2 separate regions of the Homo sapiens genome follow, and region 1 is linked to region 2. Evidence: promoter capture Hi-C in 16 types of primary human blood cells and fetal thymus (Javierre and others, 2016). All regions are on one chromosome and are shown on one strand. Each heading gives the region's core, a stretch centred on a gene start or on the middle of the fragment in contact. The rest is flanking DNA. Distances are from core to core; before and after follow the strand shown.

What was found. Contacts are between HindIII fragments. The CHiCAGO score rates a contact against its expected background, and 5 or more counts as called.
Region 1: a fragment that was not itself captured here is called in contact with the fragment with the promoter of SATB1-AS1 in region 2 in 1 of 17 cell types (naive CD4 T cells); the score reaches 5.2 in naive CD4 T cells.

Annotation. Positions count from the first base shown.
Region 1 is chr3:18,392,271-18,397,992 of GRCh38, forward strand. SATB1 (SATB homeobox 1) reads right to left here. Exons shown (of 11, transcript NM_002971.6): 6 at 4,909-5,020; 7 at 2,192-2,646. Among named protein-coding and RNA genes, the nearest start is that of SATB1, 30 kb to the right of the region's middle. The HindIII fragment of the contact is 3,261 bases long and covers 1-3,050 here.
Region 2 is chr3:18,443,416-18,449,517 of GRCh38, forward strand. SATB1-AS1 (SATB1 antisense RNA 1) reads left to right here and starts at 1,822. Exons shown (of 7, transcript NR_125803.1): 1 at 1,822-2,027. It also overlaps a transcript of SATB1 not described here. RefSeq lists a silencer at 1,728-1,947. The HindIII fragment of the contact is 8,267 bases long and covers 1-6,102 here.

The sequences.
Region 1 (5,722 bases), core at 170-2,669, 52 kb before region 2:
AGAGAAAATTTTGCCTTTCTTCCAGTAACAAATCCTGTAGATATTGTGGAATTTGTCCTTTTAAGGACCAAAGGCAGAACAAATGGCCAACTCCTCATAGTAATGGCTGTAACATCATAAACCCAAAAGGAGAAAAGCTGTAATGATGGGTGACAACTTTATCCTCACTTCTCTGAGTTCTACTGTCTTAGCATTCTTCACTATATAAAGGACACTTACTTAGTGCTTTAAGAAATAACTGCTCAATTTTTAAGACACCAGTAACTATATATATACACATATATACATATATATACACACACATACACACACACATATATATACACATATATATACATATATATATAATTTGTGTCTATGTCATGATGTCTTTGTGGGCTTTTAACTCAATTCAAAAAAGCATTATTGAAATGTTATGTAGAGACCTACTTTTTTTGGCCTAGTACGGAGAATTATTAGTACTTACTATATTTACTAAAATAAAGAATGCTACCAGAAACAGGAATATTTAGAGGGTTGACTTTTGAGCCATTCATTTTCAATAATTATCCCCCAACTGAATATAGGTGTCATATTAAGTTCACCAGCTAATGATGAACACAGTTTTTTAAGCTATAAAGATATAGAACTAGGTAAAACCATACAATTTTAACCTGAGACATAGCCTTGTGCAACTGCCTTTTCAAAAACAGACGAACGTACAAAAAAAAAAAAAAAGATGAATCGACTGAAAACAAACACTGAATTAGAGGCTTTGTCAGGTCTCCTAACTCCCCATCTAGTTAAGGCACGCCAAAAATAAGTCACAGCTGGGATTCTCCTAGGTATGGAAACTCTGCAAACTAGGAATTAATACTAGATTACTTCTGTACCAGAATTTTATTCTCATAATCATAATCATGTAATAAACAAAATAACTTAAATATGAAAGGAAAATGTGAGTCAGGTCAAAAAATAAGATAAATTGACAAAAGAAAGAACAGTGGTAAAACAAAAGAGCTGAAAAGGCATAATGTCCTTCTTCTAATCAAAGTTACGCGGTTTTTCGTTTTTGTTTGTTTTTTGGTTTTGTTGTTGTTTTTTGTTTTGTTTTAGTGTACCTGGGCCAAAAATAAACACCATATATATCACGTATCATACTAGTTTCCAAACAAAGAAAAAAATTCTTCTCATTCACAGTTCAACAGAGTCAATTTGTTTAGGGCTTCTCAAATATCTTTATCTTATGACCTCTCATATATATCACTTTTTCTCCATGACCCTCTTAAACATCTTCCAGGCTGATAGATAGTACCTTCACAGGAATTGGGCCAGGAAGACAAAGGTGTGCACATTAGGGGTATAAGCAGGCAGTGAGATCTCTACAAATGAGTCTGCAAACTAAGGCCTGCCAGCCACACTTACTCCATGGCCTGTTTTATAAATAGTTTTACTGAAATACTACCATACCCAGTGCCATTCATTTATAGTCTATGGCTGCTTTATTACTCTACAGTGTGACCGAGATTTAAGTGCTTCAAAACCTAAAATATTTACTATCTGGTCGATAACAGAATAAAGTTTGCTGATGCCTGGTCTAGACAATGAATTTGGAAGACAATAGCATGAGGGAGCGCACACAGCTTACAAATATTTTATGTTAATAAGTCATATAATATTTTTTCAAAATGGCTGCTTAGAATTAAGTGGATTATTGCTTCCAAGGTGTTAACAACAACAAACAACAACAACAACAACAACGCTGCAGTAGAACTTTAAGAGGGAACATTTATATACCTAAGTTTGATATGGGTAGTAACAACATAAATGGAAAAGACAATAGGCTAGAAGCCTGGAATCCTGCCAATAGCCTTGACTGAGTCATGAAACTTTTCTTAACCATCTACTATAGCTTATGATTCCATTATATAAAAGCATAAGTAATGCCAGTTTAAAGTACGTTTGACATTTAATTAGTCTTTCAAAGGCCCTGAATTGGGATCAATCTGCACATAGGTTCCCTTGATTCAGAAGTATATCATAGGAAAAGGAGTGGTAAAATTGAGGCTCCACCAGGAATAGGTAATATGATCACATGAAGAGAGAGAGAAAATGTTAGTACAGAAGTAAAAGAATAAACTTTAGTTATAGATGGGACTAAAGAAAGAGAAAATAGGAGACAGCACAGAACCACTTATGAAACACAACTGACCTGAGTTCTGTTAAAAGCCACACGTGCAAATACCGCCTGGGAGATTCCTGCTCGTTTCAGTTCATCGCGTACCCACTGGTAGATTTCGGAAGACACCTCTGTGTTGGTCGAAACCTGTTGCTCCAAAGGCTTATTCATAGATCTACTGACAGGGGGAGGGTGGTTCAAGTATTGTTGGTTTAAGGACTGCTGGGCTAAAAGTCTATTCACTGCATACTGCTGGTTCAGCAGCTGAGCCATCACCAGCTGCTGGTTGACCAATTGAGGACTGATAGGTGTTGATACGAGCCCAGGGTGCAGGTTTGGAAGAGGTGTCCGGACAGAGGGCTGGCTGCCATGGGAGAGCTGCGCAGGGGATGGAGGCTGCTCGGCTGTGTTCCCTGGAACTGGTTGCTGGCCAAAATTGACATGATTGGCGCCTTGCTGGGATAGCTCAGAAAGACTATCCATTTCAACTAAAGTGGACAAAGAGTAAAATCACATTCAGCCAACAATGATTGGCATTGATAAAGATTTCTAACCATTTCCTAAATTAAAAAAGGGTAGGCACAGGGCACACCCCAAATCCAATAAAACCAAGAAAATTTCAAGTTGCAACTTACCAGGCTGTGTTTTTGCTCTCCTTTCCTGAACAATTCTACAAACTTTGGAAATGGGACAGCATTCCTAATCTTATTTTTAAAAAGTGGTTTAGATTTAAGGCATAAAATCAATTATTACCCAAACTCTTTCCAACTAGTTGTTCACTCTCACTTATTACCCCAAGAAGGCTTCTAAGCAACAATTTTTAAAAATGGCTTCTAAAAGAATGTCATTTGCTTAATGACAACTACAAACAGTGAGCTGAGCTGAGAAAATAAGCTTATAATAAGCAACTAAAAAAATTTACAAATATATTCTCATGATATTCATTAACTTTAGTACTCTAGGAAAAAGGTGTAAAAGAAAAAATATGACATAAAAAGTCACCTACTTTCAATTTTTACCCAGCAGTGAATAGAAGTAGTTAATGTAATAAATAAAAATGGGCATAATAATAAGTGTATATTGAACACTTGCTGAATATCTTATATGCCTTGCTTCATTTTAATTCTAACCATCATGGGCAGTAGGTATATCTGGAAATACTTTTTAGAATAAAGCAAGTGATTTATTGTATATCAAGCCAGCATACCCAGTGTTGCTAAGATCCAAATGTTTTTTCTTCAGGAAGCTATGGCCATCACCAGATGCTAAAGACAATCTTGCAGGGAATCGTTCTGGTACAATGGTGAGGCTGTCATGATTTTGCAATTTATTCCCACCTACCCAGGATGAATGCTTCTTCCTTGGCTAGGTTCCTCATATGGATTGGCTGAGCATCATCTCTAAGTATGTAAATGCTTTTCTGTACGAAGAGGAGACTGGTTCGATGCTCTTGGCTGGAAGGGCTGAGCATGAAGCTGTACATAAACAGGACTTTCCAAATTGTACACAGACTTCCCACATGTAGACTCTAGTTTGATTTTAATCATCAATTCTCTTTTCATTAAATATGCAGGTTTTACATTTAGAGGAACTTTATCATAGCGCTATAGCTCCTGATATACGCAAAATATAACTAAGAATTGGGGAAGAAATCTTCAATTTCTACCAGTGATATCAGCCCAAGTGGGCCATTCACAGAGAACAGTAATTCAAGCAATTATTCCAAAAATGATGCATTGTCTTCATTACAGCCTTAAGCTATAAAAGGCAAAGAATCCATTTTGGTAGATGGATGGTTTTTCTTCAAATATTAAGAGCTAAAACTTGCTCAAAATTTGGATTAATTTTTCTTAAAAAATTAAAAAAAAATTAAATGAATGTAAAGAAATAAATAGAAATAGATTTAAAACAGGACATAATGCCCATTCCTATATTATTTTAAAATATATGTTTTGGAGGGTAAAAGTAGGTGAAAGAGAACAGTAATAAAAATTAAAACATTAACCTTAATCACAGTGTTTGCTTTTGTGAACATTAACAAACTCAACAGAGAGAAAATGCCATCATCTAAATGCTTAGGTACCATACACAACTTTTATCTATCATTTTACACTGCAGATAATTTTAGTGTACTTCTTGCATAACAAATATTCACCTAAAGTTATGTGTTAAGATAGAATGCTACCTTGGAATTAAAAGTTCAGAAATGATGCAATAATTGTTCTGGTATGGATGGTAAAGCAATGTGCTTATCAAAGTGCCCATCCATGGCGGCTGGGGGTTAGAGCTATAAAAATCACTTGATCTCTACTGTGGAAACTATAAATAGTTTAATTTAAGAAGTTTAATTTCCTTTAAAATTGGGTGTAAAAATAGGCACTTTCTCATTCAACCAGACAAAAACAAAAAACCTAAAAGCAAGACTTATCAGAGAAAGAAATCACAGCTAATATTAGTTATTCAAGGCCTGGTTAGGTCTTCACTGAGTTGTTAAAAAATGACAGCTCCCCTCCCAACGCCTCAATTTCCTGCATGTCTGACAACCAAGTCAGTTTGGCTGATTTAAACACAAACATTTATTGAATTTAATTATCTCATTATACTCATACCCACTTCCCACCCCCAAAGAAACATTCTAAATTGATCTCTAATTGGGCAATCAAAAGACCTGGCTTTAGATGTGACTTTGATAAACCCCCAAATGACACGTAATGGTATGTAGCCACTGCTGCAATGTTTTTTTTGCTTACCCATCATATCTTTTGTCTTCTTGAAATGTTTGTACCACCTTCCAAATTCTTGACATTTTGCTGCTGAGACATTTGCATAGTAAGTACTGTTCACAATGGAAGAAATCATACTCTGCATGAAGAAGGGGGGAGAATATTTGTAATACACAGCAGCACAAGATGGAACACAGAAATGATCTCAATTGTGGCAACTGTATTTTTTTAATCAACTGAGTACCAATACATTTTGGTTTCACACTTTAGCCTAAAGCTTCGACTTCTTAATATTCATTAAGTAGATCATCAAATGCTTATTTAAGTAGAAAGCAACAGCCCACTGAGACCAGTATAAAGCTATCAAACCCACAGACTTTGCTCTAGCATTCATTGAATCTCCATCAATGCCATCTATTACTAGGCTGTCAAACTCACTGGTCCCAATAAATCCAAATACATGAAGATGACTTTATAATTGTGACTCATAAATATACGAGACTTCGCGATTTTTTGACTGGACTCTACATCTTTTCTACTCAAAGTATAGACCAGGGACCAGCAATATGGGCATCACTTGGAAGCTTGTTAGAAATGCAGAATCTTGGGCCCTACCCCAGACCAGTGCACTTAGCAGCTGAATTTTACCAAGATCCCAGGGGATTCACATGTATATTAAAATTTGAGAAACAGAACTTGCACTTTCCACTCTATTATTTGGATTTAAAGTGGACGCGCATTAACACTGATCAAAGGTTAACTGACCGTATTTGAGAAGAAACAAACTATTCACAGAGATCCTCTATCAAGAGAAAAACATTCTGCAATCTTATTACTGGCT
Region 2 (6,102 bases), core at 572-3,071:
GTCCGGAATGCCACTGAGAAAGTTCGCCAAGGAAGGGCGCAGAGGTCAAAGTTGCCAACCAGGACACTTTGAGAGAGGACCCTGTGGTTGACATTTGTTAGTGAAATTTGCAACACCTCAGTGGAGGCCAAGGCCAAAACTTTCAAGGAGATCCCTATGCCCCTTTCCCCTGTTGGTCTTCTGAGGTCATCCCAAGAGGAAACTGCGTTTCCCCAGTAAGCACGTGGCACTCCCCGGACCTGCCACCTGCCTGCTTCGTCCTTCTCGTCGTGGTTTCCCAAACCCCGGTTCTGCCGGCCCGGGAGCCTTAGCACTGGAGCAATAGGAAAAGGCCACCGCGCTCGGGTCTGGACAGCAGGAGGGAAACACGGTGTGGACTGCGAGGCTGCACCTGTGATGTCCCGGCCCCTGCTAAGAGGACGGCCCTTTCTTCTGCCTCTTGCCCAACTCCAAACCCACATTCACGCCAGCAGCCTCTCCAGGACCGGCCTCGCTACAGCCAGCGAGGGCTCGAAATGAGGAGTGCCGCGGCTTTCAAACTCCGGGCTCCAACTTGAGCGCCCCGGCGCCCGAGTAGCTCCCGGGATGCAGAAGTTGCCACAAACTTCCCAGGCCCCTCTTCGCCGATGCTTACAATCAGCCGCGCAGGCAGGGAGCGGAGGGAGGCGGAGATGGACCGGGAAAGGATGCTGAGCAGACTCGCGATCCGGTGGGGGAACATTACCACTCCCGCAGCCCACTCCTCCAGGCACCTTACTGCCCGCCCGGCTCCAGAACGCACCGAGAGGCTCCCCTTTTCCCCATTTGCTTCCTTCGGTCTTTTCCACTCCCCTTTCCTTTTCTAAAAGGGGCCATACCGGTGACCTGAAGGAGTTTGTTCAGCCAGGGTCTATTGGGCAGGTGTGGTGGTGTGTCCACACCCAGACAGAAAACGAATGGCATCTTCAAATCCCCCATCCCGACCGCTCTCCCCTACTCTACCAGCCCACCCCTCCAAGGTCCGTCTGCGTGAGAAAAGGGGCTCGGAAGACCGTTGAAGCCCTGCGCCCACGAGAGGGGAGCCCAGCCGCCCCAATAGGGGACGAGGAGTGGGTGCTACGGAGAAGTTTGGATTGATTCCGGAAAAAGAGGGACAGAGATAAAACAGCAAGAGTAGCAAGGGGAAAAGGGAGGCAAAAGAGCAGAACTCACTCAGGCATGGACGTTGGGGGCGGCGGTGGCTGTCGAGTGCGGGCCTGAAACCAAGAACGGCTCCCCGGGCGGGCGCGCCGGCGTCGGACTTCCGAGGCGGCGGCTTCTGCCTCTCCTGCCGCCGCCGCCGCCGCCGGAGCTGCGGCTGCCGCGGAAGTTAATTGCAACTTGACTTCAAGTTGTCCTCTTTCCCCATACGAAGTGGGCGTTTAAAGGGGAGAGCGAGGCGAGGAGCGAGCGAGCGAGCGCGCGGGGCCAAGGGAAGGAAGAGAAGGAGGGGGAGGGAGGAGATGTTAACGGGCGGGGGGGGGAGAAGGGGGAGGGGGCGGCGGCGGGGGCGGGAGGGGGAAGGGGCCGGCGGGAGCTGCTCTCGTCTCGTCGGTCGCGGCGCCTGCAGTCTGGAGGCGCACCGGAGCGGCCGGGGCGTCCCCCGCGGGAGCCCGCAGCCACCCGGGACGCGCATCCAGACGTGGCGCTTCGGACCGGGCACGCTGCGCCCGGGGGCTCGGCGGACCCCGCGTAGCCGCCGCTTCGGAGCTTGTGCGGCGCGGGCTGGCCAGCGGGGCGGCCAGGGCCCGGCCCGCCTCCCCAGCGCCCGCCCGGCTTCTCCCCCTGGCGGTGGGAGCCTCGGCGGCCGCTGGCGACACTAGGCGCACTGAAGCCCGAGCCGAGCCGAGCCCGAGCCGCCGCCGCCGCCGCCGCTGCTGCGCACCGCTCCCGGGCTCCCTCCCAGCGCGCCGGCCGGGGTGTGGGGGGCGGCGGGCCGGAGGGGCGAGGGCGGGCCAGGGGGCGCACACGGGGGTTGGCGCGGAAGACAGGACCCTCAGCCTCGAGGGGTAAGTGTGGGCGCTTGGGGGTGCGCTTGGGGTGCGCGGCGCGGTTCTCGTCGCCCGCCAACCCTGCCCCCTCACCTCTCCGGGGGCCCCCAACACGCGCACTCCTCCTCTTGTCGCCTGCGGCTTCCTCTTGTTGCTTGTTGTTTGGCTGGGTTTTGGGGGGTGAGTAGAGGGGGTTACTGTAGTGTGTGTGCAGGCGGAGGAGGAAGTCAGGTGAGAGGCCGCGAAGCACCCCCACCCCAACCCAGCCTGCGTGGGGTGTATGCTTCCCCACTAGGGGCATTTGGGCCATTTTTTTTTTCTCCGTCAATGTTCGGTCGAGACGATGTTTCCTAGAGGGCCTCCTTCACTTACAGTCTGGTCTGTCCATCTCCCTTCATCCCACCCTCGTCCGTCTTAGCCCCTTGTCCAGGAGCCCTGCACCCCAAGTGAGGAGCACGTGGCGGAAGGAGGAGGAGGCCCTCTCTTGAAGACCCCCACGCTGTGACCCAGCCCATTAGTTTAAATATTTATCCTCACATCACCAGCTGTACTTTTCAACCCACTGGAACAAGACGCCTAGGCAAGGTCCAATTTCCCCAAAAAGCTGGGGGCAAAGCGGGAGAGATGAGGGTTTTATTGACATTGGGAGAGAAGGGGCCAAGGAACCTTCCCAAGTGGAGACTGAAACTCAAAAAATCTCTACAAAAAGACTAGGGTGACTGGAGGCTCAGGACTGCAGGCTTAGGAGAAACTGGAGCTCCATCAACTTTATTTCTCTCCCCCTGCCTCTCCTCCCCCCAGCTCTGAGGAAGCTAACAGGTCTTTTGTTTTGTATTGTGTAGCCTTTGGGAAATTTGCATTGAGTATGTCAACAGAAAATTACTACTGTTTACTCAAAGGGATTGCAGAAAGATAAAACATAGTAACATAGTTTTTACTTTTCCTCTTCTTTGTACGCTTGTGTGTATTTGGCAAGAAGTGTAGTTAGGTTCATGGCATGAACTGCAAAACGTCAGGTTGTAACAATAAGGACTGTAGAGCTGCCTAGGTGTATTTTTAGAAGCCGCACTTTCTTGAATTCCTTTCACACAAGGCTTGCTCTCTCATTAAGTCCCCATAAATAATTTTATTTAGAGAGGAGGAAACTATGGAAGCAGGAGGGAGATTGCTAAGATTTCCATCCTGCCAGCGCACAGCACTGTTTGCAGGGAAGTTCCTGGAAAGTGATTGTGGGCTGAGAATTCAGTTTTTCCTAAAAGCTCTGTTAGGTCCTGTTGTGTCAGATGGCTATGAATAAAGCACGCTGGGAAAATCCTGATATCCGTGCAGTCTTATTTTATCTTTTACACAGTGGTTGATTCGACTTTCAAGCCCTGGTGACAAACACATCAACTCTGCTGTATTTTTGTGTGCTTTTTCTAAATAAAGGAGAATACAGCATGTATTCATGCTGCTTTTTTCCCCTCATCCATGGTTATTGAATTCACTGGAAGTTATTCATCTTTTTTCAGTTGATCATCATTTTATGCCGAGACCACAATTCCAAACATATAGGAATTTTTTAAAATTATGAATTAGGGTTCTTTTAGGGAACCAACCCTCCTTTTTAAAGATACAAGTGCCCACCACAACTCCTAGTTTTGTAAAGCAAAGCAAAAAGGTATAAATGATTATAATGAGCAAAACATAGTAAAACGTTTTCCTTCTTGGATCACTTTCTGTCCCCACAGGTCCCAGGAGACATTAAATCCTCCTGCCTTAATTTACCAAAATGCTGCATTTCCTAACCAGTAACAATATCTGTGTCTGAGAAAGACATCAGGTTTGGAATGGAAAAAAATACATTCTCGGTATTTAATTACTGCTTAACAGTAATTTATTGTAGCAGGCAGTTGATTTTCCAATTCTGAAAGCCTGAAATGAAGCTGAACAGAAATTTGAAATTTTTAAAAAAGGTTTTTTTTTCTTTCTTACACTCTTATATACTCATCTGCTTCCCCAAGTTATCAGCCAAGCCCCTATAACTGAAAGTATGATATGCTCCTCTGAGTTGAACCGAGACCATTTTGCCCCTCATTTTTTGAATTTGCTTTTTCCTCCCAATAGTCTTGTATAGAAAGCACATGGGCTCTGTTAGAATACAGAATTATGCAATTCTGGGTGCAGTGCATTAAATGACATAGTTTGATAAACTCTTAAGCCTTACAGCTCAGATGTTAATAAAATATTGTAGTTGGCCACAAATTTCATAGCACAAGGCTAAGATCATTTTTCAGAAGAAAGGGGCATTTAATCTGGATTATTTGGTTAGTTGCTATGGTCTGAATGTTAGTGTTCCCCCAATATTGGGGTTCATGTGTTAGAACCTAATATCAAAAGTGATGGTATTAAGAAGTAGGGCCTTTGGGAAGTGATTAAGTCATGAAGGCTTCAACCCTCATGAGTGACAGGAGTGCCTTTGTAAGACAGGCTGAATCTAGCTACCTTGCCCCTTCCACTGTGTGAGGACACAGCAACAAAAGTGCCATCTGTGAAGCAAGGAGTGAGCCTTCACCAGATACTGAATCTGCTGGTGCTGTAATCTTGGACTCCTCAGCTTCCAGAACTGTGAGCAATAAATTTCTGTTGCTTATAAATTACCCAGTCAAAGATAATTTGTTGTAGCACCTCAAATGAACTAACACAATAATACATTTGTGCTACTAGATTTTTTTAACAAGTCCAAATGTGACTTAAATGACTGAAAGACAAATCTGGAACATATCAAATGGCCAATAATAGTAGCTGGTATCAAAAGCTGCACTGGTTATTTCCTTAAAAGAATAGACAATAAAATATTGCCTACTAAATATTAGAAGAAAGATCAAGGGAAAGGATAAAACAGCATTGGCCTTGAAGGAAGTTATTTGCTGGAAAAAAGACATCAAAATGTGAAAAGACAATGGATCAGTTAGTGGTTTGAATCAAAGAAATACTTGAGGAAGAAAAAATATATATATATATGTACATATTTTTCTCTTAAGACCAGAGGAATCAGAGATCCTAAAGCTCTAGGTTGGAAGGTATTTTTAAAGTTAATTTGTTCTGTCAAATCTTTAGAGGCCATTCAATGCAGATATTTTGGGTGTGAAGGGGAACTTACTACTTACCGCCATTAAGGCAAGGATTTTTACCTATACCGTACTTACCAGAGAATAGAGTTCACTATATATTGTGCAAGTGAATGGATAATTTCAAAAGTATTTCATCTTTATATACTTTATTATGTTTTTACCTTATATATATTTTTTTACCTTATATTGCACAGAATTAGTCTTCCTGAAACTTCCAACCGTTAGTCTTCGTCCTGCCAGTTGCAGCCAAACAGAACAAATTTGTTTATCAGTCAAGATAGGCAATGTGCTGGAGTAACAATTCCAATTTTTTAGTGGCCTGTAACAGCAAACGTTTTCTTGGTTATGGTTTGAATCCATTGCAGTTCAGCTGGTCTGTTCCATGTCTGTCACTCCAGGTCCCTGGCTAATGGAACAGTTGCCATCTTGAATGTTTCATGTTGTTATGGCAAAAATAAAGATCACTCTGGAGGGTTTCATGCAGACATTTAAATGCTATGGCCCAGAAATGCCATACATCATATGGCCTCACAAAGAATTAACCAGGATTAGTTGTGTGGCTCCAAAGAATCATGACAAGAAGGTCGGATAGTGCAGCCTATCTTGTACCCAACAGTAGAGAGCTGTGGTACACAATTCTGCAGACTACTGCTACTGGTAGTAATCCTTGTCCATATGATAACCTGCCAGCTAAACAGTCTCTTCCTGTAGCTTTATGGCCCAAGTCTTCCATTTTTTAGGGCAAACTGCCAGAGTAGCCACCAGCTTAGAGGGAAACATTGTTATCAGGGGAACCCGCCCCCAATATTTCAACATAGATTCTTTATATTTTCCCTAAGTGTCGGCCAGTCTGAGCAATAAAGAGAAAGAATACAAAGAGAAGAATTTTACAGCTGGGCCGCTGGGGATGACATCACATATCAGTAGATCCGTGATGCCCACCTGAGCTGCAAAACCTGCAAGTTTTTATTAGGGATTTC